Linked DNA regions of Homo sapiens: region 2 is linked to region 1. The links are contacts of gene promoters, found by promoter capture Hi-C in blood cells and fetal thymus (Javierre and others, 2016). All regions are on one chromosome and are shown on one strand. The core of a region is centred on a gene start or on the middle of the fragment in contact, and the rest is flanking DNA. Distances in the headings are between cores, read along the strand shown. Region 1 holds the start of CNMD (chondromodulin). Region 2 has its middle 48 kb from the start of OLFM4.

What was found. Contacts are between HindIII fragments. The CHiCAGO score rates a contact against its expected background, and 5 or more counts as called.
Region 2: a fragment that was not itself captured here is called in contact with the fragment with the promoter of CNMD in region 1 in 1 of 17 cell types (endothelial precursors); the score reaches 6.4 in endothelial precursors.

Annotation. Positions count from the first base shown.
Region 1 is chr13:52,736,385-52,743,203 of GRCh38, forward strand. It overlaps CNMD (chondromodulin), which reads right to left and starts at 3,436. Exons shown (of 7, transcript NM_007015.3): 1 at 3,246-3,436; 2 at 2,647-2,787. The coding sequence starts at 3,317. RefSeq lists an enhancer at 1,006-1,507. The HindIII fragment of the contact is 4,345 bases long and covers 1,815-6,159 here.
Region 2 is chr13:52,976,904-52,983,722 of GRCh38, forward strand. No RefSeq gene overlaps it. Among named protein-coding and RNA genes, the nearest start is that of OLFM4, 48 kb to the right of the region's middle. The HindIII fragment of the contact is 2,463 bases long and covers 2,242-4,704 here.

The DNA of each region.
Region 1 (6,819 bases), core at 2,186-4,685:
TCCCAAAGTGCTGGGATTACAGACGTGAGCCACCACGCCTGGCCTGCAGCCCACCTTTTATGTGCACTGCACCATCTGCATGGGGACAGCAGTGAAGCTGTCCCCCTCCTGAAGCTACTAGGGGAGGATGTGGGGGGAGGAGGCAGTCCAGTTTCTAACATACTAGACTCTGAGCTGGGGACGAGGCTGGGCTGTTGGAGCAGCAATTACCTTATCTGCTCTAAGTCCGTGGAGCTGTGGACACCCAAGGCTATTTTTATCCAAACAAGATGAAATTTATTATTTGCCAAAATTCTGCTCAATATGGTGCCTTTTACAGCCAAGGATATTTGCTAATGAGTTTTTAATAAGGCCTATGTTCTATAAGATTAATTACATAATGTTTGGGAAAATGTCTAGAAAAATTAGTCTGAGAGGAAAGGCCCCAAGCAATGATCTCCTTCCCTCATCTCACAGGGTGGGGTTGTCAGTTATCTCATATTGGTGGAAATTTCCCATATTTCAATGCCTTGTTCCATTTACAATAATGTGGATGAAAAATGGCCTCAATATTGGAGCCCAGTTCAGTTGTCCCCTGATTATTATTACTCCAGTGCTTCATAGTCCTCCAGCTAAATTTCAGTAAACCTGTCCTAAGGGGATTTACCCACATGAAAAGGATAGGAGGTGAATTACAGCTGGTTCTCCTCTATAAACCAATATAGAGGAGCCGAGGCACAGATAATCCCCAAAGAGTGGATAATCCATTTGGTTTGACAAGTCTTTCTGTTTGACAAAGACTTACCTTTTTTGATTACGTTTTGTCTGAGCTATTTAGATTTGTATTCAGGCAAAGCAGACCTGTGCATGTGCTATGCCTAGGTGGTGCAAAAATTACTCTATTTAGTATTTTGTGATTTGTTTTTCATACTTAAGTCATATGGATCAGGGAGAAAAAAACTATCATGATTTTCTTCATTCTCCTGTCTGTATAGGATATAGCAATAATTTTGATTGTTGACAATAAAATGTGATTCACTATTCCTCTGAATTCTTAGCATTTAATACTGCTCTCCTGAACCAGACAACCAACCATCTTGCAGTAAAGTAAAATATATGAAAAAAGGGAGCTGTGCTTATTCAGTATGATTGTTTAATCTCTCTTTTTAGAAGCCTGTCAGTTAGTGATGTTTACCTTGAATAATTAAATGACAAATGGTATTCATTTTAAAATATATCATGTCCAGAATCTTTACCAAAAAAAAGCATAGCTATTGTTATCCCCCATTGACCTATACCATTGAGGCTTTGTTATTTAAAAGATAGCATTTACATTCTAAAACCACAGAATTTCCCAAAGAGATGACAATCTAAACCCTGCTATTAATGGAGATGTAGATATTGAAATCATTCTCTTATTCACATTTGCTGTTTCAAACATGAGCATCTGGCCCAGCTTCTATATTTAAAATACAAATACATTAAGGCACTTTTCAAATACCCACAAAATACAGTGCAATTCTGATCTTACAAATCGATGCTTGTAAATTTGATATAGTCTCTAAAACAGACTCGGTGCTAAATGGCATGCTTATCTACATTAGACATTTGAGTTAAAAATACAAATTATGCAGTGACTGCAGAAGACGTGATGTGTAAAATGGTTGAATTGCTTTCAGCACCATTTTCTGTAAGTACTGGAATTCGTTCATGCTTTGCATTTCATGGTAGGAGAGAGGAAAAAACAGCAATCACCAATCCTCTGAGGATAGTGATTATGAAAGAGCCCTTTGTGTGTGCCCTGGAGATGGAATTCTTTTCCATTAGTTGAAATAAGCTTATACCAGACCTGGCAGTGGTCATCAAGATAAAATGCCCCCTTTTACATAGGTGAACACTTTCAGAGTATTTAGAGAACACACTGGAGCTCTGCCCAGTCAACTTAGAAACAGTCTTTATACTCCTCGAGAGCCGTGGAGCTTTAAAATAAATAGTTGCATACAAAGAAAGTAGGACAGCAGTTAGTAAAACACCTACTATTAAACCACATGTGATGACTAGGCCAGAATTAATTGTTAAAGAGATTTTCCACCTTTAAGGAAGTTAGACGTTTTGTTTGTTTGTTTGTTTTTTGTTTTTGTTTTCCAGAGAGAGAAGGGAATGTTCATGGCTAGGTCACAAAAAAACCTTCTGAAAGGCAAAAATTCCTTCCCAATGGGTCTGAATATGGGTCTGAATATTCCTCCACTATCTTTGTCCTGGATTTTAAACCCACAGCCTTTCTTAGCAGGGACAGGCCTTAGAGATCGTCCAGTTCCATTTTTTCCCTTCAGGACGAGTACACTGAGGCCAAAAGGTGACGTGCCTTCCCCACGGTCGCGCCACTGCTTAGTGGGAGATGAGCCGAGAACGGCCTTTCTCGGACCGTCCACTACATTCTCCCCTACTCTACGCTTCAATCTTCTCCCGTGAAACCTTCACTTGCTTTTCTACAACGTTGACCTAAGGCGGAAAGCCGCGTGCCAGAGTGGGATGGGAGAGGGGAGCTCACGCTGGGCCCGAGGGGCCCGCCGGCAGCCGCGCGCCCCTCGCCGGCCCGCGCTCGGGCTCCCCCTAGGGGCACCATGGGCGACACGGGGGTCCCCGCGCGCCGCCCTCTGGACTTACGTGACTGTCGCTCCCCTTCCAGAAGTAGAAGGCCCCGATGGCCCCAAAGAGCAGCAGCACAGCTCCCGAAATGAGGACCACGGCTCCCACCTTGAGCAGCCGCGCGGGGCTGGAGGGCTTCACCGTCAGCGTAGCGTACGCCTGCGGGCCGGGGCGGGAGAGGGACCGTCGCGTTTGTGCCGCCAGCACCTGCGGCCCCCAGCGCACCCGGGCCCCACGCGGTAGCCCCCAGGGAGTGGGGAGTCGGGCGGGAAACAGCTCGCCCGGGCTCCTACGGGTGCCCCTTTCGCCGCGCTCCCTCCCGAGGGTCCTTTGCAGTCGGGCGTGGAAGTGGGATGAGCAAACCCCGCAGCACAGGGCCTTCGCCCCAGGACCTGCACCCTCTACCGGCCACGGGACGTCCCTCCGCACCCGCCTGTGGATGCCGTGACCCCTGCACACTCATACGCGTGGGGCGACATCCCACCCACACATTTGGGACCCAAATTTATCCCCCCGCCAACACACCCATTCGGTGGCACGCACCCCTGAGTCCGAACTGTGGAACCTGATACTCACACAACCCAGGCCCTGCGTGTGGAATCCCTGGCGGTACTCACCGGGGGGCTGCAGAATTCCACGTCATCAGGTCCCACCAGGGCAATGGGAACTTTGTCGGAGTTCTCTGTCATGTTTGCGGCGGGAGGAGTGAGGCACTTGGAGACTCCCTGGGCACCCTGGGATCTGTCCCGCTGCCCCGACGTGCAGGGCATTTCAACGCCGCGCGCACACACGGTGCACGGTCCCGCCTGGGCCAGCCCAGCGGTCCCCACCCCTTCCAGCGCCTCACCTCTCTCCTCCCTTCTCTCTCCCGCCGCGGGAAGCTCGTCCTGCACTCCCGGATGCCCCCTTTCCTCCTCACTCTATCCTGTCTACTGGCCCCCCAAACAGCATCCCGGTGACTCTGAATGTGTGGGGGTGGTTGCATCCCTCAGAGCGGGATGCTGAATCCTGGGACCCAAAGAAATACTCAAGTGCCAGAGCAATTAGCCATGCACCGGAGGATGTCTTAGAATGTCAGCGGGCTCTGCTGTGACAACTGGCTGGAGGCCATTTCCTGCAGGGTCTTTGTAGGTGTGTGTTGGGGTGGGGGTGGGGGGAAGATGGCTCATGGAAGGTGAAGGAGAAGACAACAGAGTGGTGCAGGTGGACAGGGGACACTGGCCTAAGAGTGTAAGGGTTAGGCCACCTTCTCACTGGCCTGGCATTGCTGGATGGCCCCTGGGACTGGAAAACAGAGCAGGGTCTTAGGGATGGCTCCTTGCCACCAGTTTTTCTAGGGTCTGGGTACAACTGCAGCAAAAGTGAGAGCTAAGCAGAGCAGGGCTGGAGGGAAGGAGTTGGGGAGACCAGAATAAAAGTGCATGCTGGTTGGTTGAATAAATTAAATAAGTGCAAACAAAAGCAACAATGGCAAAGCACACACACACACACACACACACACACAGAGTACTGATGTATCCAAAGGAATAACACAAATGTGTGTGTGTGTGTGTGTGTGTGTGTGTATGTATGTATGTATATAAAATTTTCACTTTTGGAAATGCCATCTTCCAGTTCCAGGATACATGGTACTTCATTTGGATCCAGGCTTCCTTAAATTGCGTTCGATTCTAGCTTTGTGCAGAGCTCTCTGGTGAGGTGTAAGTGAGGAGCACTAGTGCATGAGAGGGATTGAGGCTTCCCCAAAGGGCAGCGGGAGATTGCATGTGCAGGACTGCAGAAGGAGAAAGTGTTGAAGAATCATCCAAGACATGTGATGAAGAATGAGGTGACAAGCATGATGACCTGGGGCTGGGAAGGAGGGGAGAAGTGGAGGAGACCACTTTCACAGAAGAATCGATAGGACTTGGCAATTCCTGGGCTGTGGGAACTGAGTTTTCAGACCTAGGAGGATTGGGAGAGTGATAGGAACCCTAGGGAAGTGAAAAAATTGGAAGAAACAGTTTTAGACATGTTGAGCTTGATGTGGGGATGAAAAGTAAAAGAGCCAAGGAAATGTCCTGAGCCTGCATTGGAATCAGCTATGGAAACAGCTGTCTGCACATCACACTAGACTTAAGGTGCTTGGAAAAAACTCCAGCAAGATCTCCAGCCAGGGCTCATCCCTGGGGCACTGCTGAGGCAGAGTTCAAAGACCTCTTTTCACAAGGGCATTCTTCACAGGAATTTTGGTGAAGGAATAAGAGAAGTAACTGTCAGAGAGGTGGGAGATGGTACAATATAAAGTAGTACATGTAATTTTAAAGGCACATTCAAGAAGGGTGGGTCAGCAGTGTCAAATGCTGAAAAAAAATGAGCACAGAGAAAGGCCTTGGAAGGGCACAACCAAGAGGCCATGGGAACCAGCGAGAGAGTAGTTCCATTTGCTTCCCTGGGCACAGAAGACACATTGCAAAGGGTTACAGAGTGATTAAAAATATTTGCAACTTATACCACAGACAAGGAACTAGTTTTCTTATATAGTGTTTTCCTAGGAAAACCAAAAGACCAAAAATGTAGTAGAAAAAATGGCAAAGAATGGAAACAGAGAGTTGGTGAAGCAAGAAGTAGAAATTTCTCTTAAATGTAAGAAGAATGAACAACAGCATTATTTTGCCTTTTTTTTTTTTTTTTTTTTTTTTTTTTTGAGACAGAGTCTTGCTCTATCGCCCAGGCTGGAGTGCAGTGGTGCGATTTTGGCTCACTGCAACCTCCACCTCCCAGGTTCAAGTGGTTCTCCTGCCTCAGCCTCCCAAGTGGCTGGTATTACAGGCGCCAGCCACCATGCCTGACTAATTTTTCTATTTTTAATAGAGGCAGGGTTTCACCACGTTCGCCAGGCTGGTCTCGAACTCCTGACATCAAGTGATCCGCCCACCTTGACCTTCCAAAATGCTGGGATTACAGGCATGAGCCACCACGCCTGGCCACAACTGCATTCATACAAGGAAATGCAAATTAAAAGTAGACTGGTTCACCTATGAGACTGGAAAAACATAAAAACGCTTGTTAAAACAATCTGTTGAAAAATATGAGGGGCAGTGAATTTATGGACTACTGTAGTGGGTGAATTGGTACAACTTCTATGGAGAACAATTTAATTCCAAAATGCAAAATGCAGTTTCATTTCTATGGATTTATCCTACAGATGCACTCACAAGGGTGGAAAAATCCTGCAGGTGCAACGATGCTCACTGCAGCATGTTTGTTAGAACAAAGCACTAGTAATATACTCAATGTCCAGAGTAGACAATTTATGATCCATTCTCACCGTGGGGGTTTGGCAGCCCTTTAAAAGAATGAGGCAGCTTTGGATGTAGTGATGTAGATAGAACACTCTCTAAGATACTTCAAGTGAAAAAAGCAAAAGGTAGAAAATGCGTAGAAATGCTTCCATTTGTATAAAGAAATACAAACAAGAATAAATGTAAGTATATGCTTTCTGGAAAGATAAGATGCTGGTAGTGGGGGTTGCCTCTGAGGAAAATGTGAAGCTTGGGGAGACCAGTAGAAAGAAGATGCTTAACTGTGAACCTTCTGAAATGTTTTGAATTCTATATTGTGAACACGCATTAGCTATTCAGGAATTGAGTGAATAAAGCACTAAATAACAGTGAGTAGGTGGGGAGGAAGTGAATGCTACAAATGGAGACAATTCTTTTAACAACTTTCAACTTGAGGGGAAGAAGGATGAATGTAAGGAAGTTTTAGATGAGGGGAGTTAGAGGATCAAGGAAGGTACCACCTTCCCTTGATGAACCTTGAGAAGGAGAGAAGGACTGGAGGGAGTGAGTGGTGAGTGGATACTTTGGGGCCAAACAGACATTGAAGAGAGGGTGAGGAATCAGGGGAAATGCAAGACCTTGCCTCATTCATACATTTTTAACACATAATATACAGAAAGTAGCTGACCAGGGCGTGAGGGGTGAGGAGTGGGTATGGAGATCAGTTGCCTCCTCTGAGCACATTCTCCTAAAGTGGCATATTTTCAACAATTTTAAGGTAGTGTGTTCACATGATGATGGTTATAGATAATGAAAAGGCAGTAGAAAAAGCAGTAAGGGAGCAAGACTGGGAGGCTCATTGCTGTGGTTTGAATGTGTTTCTCAAAATTCATGTGCTGGAAACTGAATTCCCAATGCAAGTGTTGAG
Region 2 (6,819 bases), core at 2,223-4,722, 240 kb after region 1:
CTAATTCAAATTAAGAAGGTGACCATTATCAATTTTGTTTCCTATTAGTTTCTTAATGCTTTGGCAAATTGCATTCTAAACTTCTCCTTCAATGAGCTGGATACATATTCATGGGTTTCCTAAGAAAAGATGAATTTGATCTTGATATGCTAATCCCATAGCCATGGCAGCAATCAAGGAGCAGCTAGGGAGAGAAGTGCATTCTGGTATTAATTATGAATCAGGCATTAAGAACTGGTAAATAATTAAAGCTTCATATGTCACAACACAAGTTAAGGATCAGTATGTTTTTCCATTACCAAATGCATTTTAGGGGCTACTTCTAGTCCCATTTCGATACTGCTTGAACATAAAATGAAATGTAGATAGGTAACTCTCATTCGTAGTAAACTCATAGTACAAATTTTTAACTTATTGAACAGCTGGTATAGAAATAAATTTCATTTCAGAAGCAGAGGCCCAGTATTTCTGGGAGATTTTGGGTCATTGACCTTCCCCACTACTCCTGAATTTTTTTCAGTCTTTGGAGAGCCTGTGCAGAATAATCATGTATTGGGCAGGAGGTTGAAGTAGATGTTCCTGAGGGTTTTGCTACTCAAAGTGTGGTCCACAGACCAGCAGCATCTGCATTACCTGGGAGCCAGTTAAAAATGCAGAGTCTCAGGCCCATCCAGACCCACTGAATCAGAATCCACATTTAAGCAAGTTTTCCAGATGATTTGTTTGTACAGTGAAGTTTGAGAAGCTCTGCTAAGGTGCCTTTCCTTTTGGGAAACTGGTGACTTTCCAACTTCCTGTATTTCTTCTTCTACACTGGAAAGGAGACCAAGTTCTACTTTGTCCCTCCCAGTATTCTAAATGACCACAGCTGTCCCCATCAGACTGTGAGGGGTTGGATACCTCTGAAGCCCATCTGAATGCCTCCAGGATGCTGGAAGCACTGGTCTTGGATTTGAATCCTGGATCTGATCTTTACGATCTTAAGCAAGTTACCAATCTCTTGGAGGCTCAGCTCCAGTGAGAGTAGCACTGCCTGTCTCAGAGGGCTGCAGTGAGGGGGTAAATGAAACAACATATATAGGAAATGATGCCTGTTAGCACTCTGCAAACGGCAGCCCTGATAGTGATTATGGTGATGATGATGATGATGGCACTGAGGAAAAAGTAACTTCTAAAAGAACGAATTGACAACCAGGAAAGAGATGATTAGCTCATTGGACAATGAAAATAAGCTTTAAAACTAATCATAGGCTACTGCAGTGGCTCATACCTGTAATCCTAGCACTTCGGGAGGTTGAGGTGAAGGATTGTTTGAGGCCAGGAGTTTGAGACTAGCCTGGGCAACATAACAAGACCTCATTTCTACAAAAAATAAATATTAAAAAAATTAGCTGGGCATGGTGGCACACACCTGCAGTCCCAGCTACTCAGGAGGCTGAAGTGGGAGGATCACTTGAGCCCAGGAGTTCAAGGCTGCAGTGAACGATGATAGCACCACTGCACTCCAGCCTGGGCAACAGAGTGAGATCCTGCCTCAAAGAAAAAAGAAAAGTAATCATAGACTGCATCATGATGGTCTCTGCCTGACAGAATGAATGAAAGTTTAAAGGAGAGGTTTTTTTTGGCATGGGTTTTGGAAGAAGAGGAGTAGTATTCTCAGAGAGTGAAACTTACCCAGAAAAACAGAGGAGAGTTTAAAGGGAAACCCCATTGCTACCTTTTTTGGCCTCTTTACTCTGTTTTTACTTTCTTCATATCACAATGCTGTACCAATTTTACCAAGTACACATTTGTCCCTTCATGAAGATATCGCACTCTCCTCTGGAGGGAAAAGTAAGTATCATTTTTGCTTTTTCTGAAGTTTAAATTAATGAGGAAGGACAAGTAAATGTTTGAAGTACCAAAGTCTAAAACCTCAATTTAAAAATTTCAACTTTATGAAGTTTACTTAAAATGATTGTTCTCAGTGACTCCTATCATCCTATCATGCCCCCAAACACAGTGACTGCCCATCGTGGAATTCAGCTTCTCTCTTATTTTCCACCCTATAGAATCCCCTTTCTTCAGTTCCCCTCAGCCACTCCTGTTCCCAAGAAGTATGAAAATGATATTTATTATAATAATAAATGTTGGCCTCTTCAAAGATAGAAAGAACTGTTCGTAGGATGGGGTTAAGGGACCAGATGCCAAGGAATGTTTTCATTGTCTTTTCAAAATGCTGAGGGAAAAGGAGAATGAGCAAGCTTTGGTATTTCCCATTAGCAGCTGCAGGGCACAAGGTCACGGGCTCTGGCCCTGCAGGAACATAAGAATACCGAATACGAAAGACTCCTTCCTTATTCTCTGTAAGGCACACCGTGGAATTACCTATTATGGCCATGAATTGCCACTTTATTTTCAAAGCCATGAAAGACAAGAAAAGCCAAATTAAAAAAAAAATCCTCATCTTAAATCTTTTCAATTTTTAAGTCTGTAAATACAGGGGTCAGGACAAGAGGTCTTTCTTTCAAAACATACCTTATGTCAGGTTGCACCATTGTGTAATATTTAGCAAGCAATATTTATCTCATCTGGGAGGTAAAGGATTTTTACCAGCTCTACTCACAAAGCAATTTATGGCCACATGCTGAAATTTATTAGAATTAGGTCTTCAACTTTCCATTTACATCTTGGGCACTGAGTTTGATTGGGTGTTGATTGGTTCTGAGGCTTTGCACTTGGTTCCAAAATTGGTGGCTTGCAGAATCTATGAGGTGGGAAGAAGGATGAGAGGATAAGGGGAGTTGCTAAGGTCTGACCTCAGAAATTTCCTTAACTGGAATTAATTTCTCCCTCCTGTCTTCTGGAGCACTGCGTACCTCACTTTAGGCACATGTCTGGCATGCCTAGTACTATGTATTGTCCTCATTTGGGGACCTGCAGCTCAGCAATGTGGCAAAGTCATTAAGGACTCGGAAGCCAACTACCTGTGCTTTTATCCTGCCTCTGCCACCAATTATCTGTGGAAGCCTAGGCAAGATATTCTCTGCTTCAGTCCCCTTATTTGCAAAATGTAGATGGTAGTAGTACCTTCCTTAGAGGGTCATAGTGAAAATTCAGTGGTTGAGTTAATACATGCAATGCAATTGAAACTGCCTGGCGTATAATAATTGGTGTGTTTGCTTGCTATTTCTCATCCCAGCTGCCTGACCCTCAGCTCCGGGAAAGAATTCATCTTCATATTTTCATAGTGCCAGGTGTAGTGCCATTCTGTAGTTCACATTTACTCATTCCACAAATACTTAATACATGCCTACAGTGGGCCAGGCACTGACTGACAGACATGATTGCTATGAAATGTATGGCTTTGCTGGAGAGATCGGCAAGTATTACAATACTTCTAATTGGGGAAGTGTGGGATGCAATAGAGTAAGTATCGGGGGTGCTTCTCTTGAACCTATGGGGGGCAGGCTAGGTTTCCTGGAGGAAAGTGATGCATCAGCAAAGTCTCGGATGAGCAGGTAAAGGGCACAGAGAGTTTTGGATGAAGAGAAGTGCCTATCAGGAAGGTGTCCTATGGATAACTCAAATGAGTGAGGGAATGAAAATAAATTTTGGTCAGCTTTTGAGAAGATGAGGGAATCCTAACGTCCTCTTAAATTGTTTTGGTTGAATGAGGAATGCCTAGGCACTCCTGATGGTCATGTTTTAATTCCCAGAATAAGGATGAATGATGGAAGAGGGCTGCCTAGAAGACCTCGTGGAGCAAAGGGCTTTGTGCTGAAATCAGGACTTGGACACATCCACGTGCTTTCTGAAGCACATTGCTTCCTTAATTGTTTTCTTATATAGTAGTTTCTTTTTATGCTCGGGGAATATGTTCCAAGACCCCCAGTGGATGCCTGAGACTGTGAGTAGTACCAAAGCTATAAATACTATATTTTTTCAATCTGATAACCATGACAGCTACTAAGTGACTAATGGGCAGGTAGTGTATACAGCATAGAAATACTGGACAAAGGGATGATTCATGTTCCAGGCTGGATGGAGCGAGATGGCATAAGATTTCATCACGAGACTCAGAATAGTGTGCAAAGTAAAACTTATGCATTGTTTATTTCTGGAATTTTCCATTTAATATTTTCAGACTGCGGTTGACTATGGGTAGCTGCAACTTTGGAAAGCAAAACCGTAGAGAAGAAGGGACTGCTGTACATATGTTTTATTGCCCTCTCATTCGGAATCTTGCAATGTCTCTAGCAACTTACCCTGATGGTATTGGCAGGCATTTTGACTGCAGATGAGTAAAAAGTTTATTGCAAAGAAAACATAGATCAGGCTTCCTTCCTTGTCTGCCCAGAACCTAACATTTTGAAACTCTGCCATCTTTGAAGGGGGTTTTGTTCCTATGTGGGTTGCTGTGGCTGACCCTCTACTCCATTTTTGAAGGAGATTTGTTCCTAACTGGGTTGCTATGGCAGCCCCTCCATTCCCTCTTTGAAGAGGGTTTTGTTCCTATCTGAGTTGCTGTGGCCGCCCCTCCACTCCCAAAGAGACTCATCCTTATCCTTTTCTATCTTCCTCACCATGTATTCATAGGACAAAGCTGACTTTTGAACTGGAAGACAGTGGGTTTAACTAAAAATAAGATTGGTTAGTCATTTAAAAGCTACAGAGACTGAGAGGCAAAACTTTCCAAACTCTTATTAGGTCCCCTCATTGGGAAGCTTTGGCATTGGGCAGAGGTGAGCCTCTGCCTCCCTTTCCTTTGAGAAGAATGGAAGTAGCCCTTGTCAACACATAGCACCTTTCTCTGAAGATAAATCCCTGATTGAGTTGGAAGCCTGGCTGCTTTCCCTGCCCCTTCATAGCAGGGTCCCTTTGACTCTCAGTAACTTTTTCAGCATTTCACTCAACATGATCAATAGCTTTTCGTTAATGCTTCTGGGCCCAGAGGAAGCAGAATAGATGAGAGAAGGCAAGTGGATTGATAAATACCTTAGAATCACCCAAAGGTAAATGGTTTTTTTATATATAGAATCCAAGAGAGAGATTCACTCTAAATGCATACCTTTCCTCAAGACAGGTGAGACTGCATTGCTCTCTGGAGGGGGCTGAATTGGCCATCAGCATCTTAAGAATGAGCCTATCTTTGCTTTCCTTTCCATGAAGAAGGAAATGTCCTTAGGACAAATCTCTCCTAGGATAACTTTCCAGAACAATTGGACATATCCACTGATTTTACCAAAAAGCCTATGTTTTTGTTTTTCTGGTGAGTTTATCATTCTGCAAAATGTGGGAGCTAGAATTGGATTACATAGTAATTTCTCATGAGAAGACAGCAGTGAAATTAGGTAAGTGGCAGGGTTTATGTTCCAGCCTCTTTGCCATGCCAGCTTGTGTGTTTCACATTTGGACAATGCCCTCAGAATTGTCTAGCTCATGTGCAGGGTGGGCACACAGTTAGGGAAATACAACAGAACAGCCACTGTTAGAGCCTTGGGGCTGAGAAAATCCCACCACCTAAAAAAGCAACTGGAGAGTGGAATCCCATGGTTCTCAGTGAAAATGGAAATGGTGACATTTTATTTCTCTAGCTGGGGACCCATATGGGCTGACTTCTAGAGCAGGGTTTTCAAACAGCATTTTATGGACCCATGCTTCCTTTCTTCTAGTCCCCATTGTATCTCCCTAATAAAACCATGATCACCTATTGTTGCTTATTTATTTATTGATATGCCGCAGCTTATAAGATTATATAGCCCTTGCATTGTAATAGTCTCTCCTAAAATAGCATTCACTTAAAAATGATCAAAGTACAGTTGATCCTTGAACAACATGGGTTGGAGCTGCCTGGGTTCACTTATATGTGAATTTTCTCCCCGCTGTGCCACCTCCAAGGCAGCAAGAACAATTATTTCTCTTCCTCCTCAGGTTATTCAATGGGAAGATGATGAGGATGGAGATCTTTGTGATGATTCACTTTCACTTAATGAACAGTAAATATATTTTCCTTTTCTTTGTGATTTTCTTATGAAAATGTTAATTTTCTTTTCTACAGCTTACTTTATTGTAAGGCTACAGTGTATGATACATTGTATGATACATATAACATACAAAATATGTGTTAATCAACTATTTATGTTATCAGTAAGGCGTCTGGTCAATGGTAGGCTATTAATAATTAAATTTTAGGGAGTCAAAAGTTATAAACAGTGAATTTTTGGTTGTTCAGGGTATCGATGCTCCTAACTCCCATATTATTCAAGGGTCAACTGTAATAGATGAATATCATAAAAAACATCAAACACTGCAAAGTATACAAGGCAGTGGGAGCTGCCCCACTCACAATCATCTCTCAGTCCCACCTCACAGAGGCAACCACTTTGAAAATTTTTTTTTTTTTGGACACAGAGTCTCGCTCTATTGCCCAGGCTGGAGTGCAGTGGCATGGTCTCAGCTCCTTTGCAGCCTCTGCCCCCGCTGGGTTCAAGCAATTCTCCTGCCTTAGCCTCTCGAGTAGCTGGGATTACAGGTCCCTCCCCGCCCCCCCGTGGCACACCCAGCTACTTTTTGTATTTCTAGTAGAGATGGGGTTTCACCATGTTGGCCAGGCTGGTCTTGAACTCCTGACCTCAAGTGATCCACCTGCCTTGGCCTCCCAAAGTGCTGGGATTATAGGCATGAGCCACTGTGCCCGGCCTGAAATTTTTCTAGCTGTTTCTGTTTGTGATTATTGTTGTTTATTGGTCTACCAACTTTAGAAATTATTTATTCTCTTTCTACTGTGATCATTTACCACTTATACTCTACTCCCCAATCCTTCTCTCTCCATTCTTT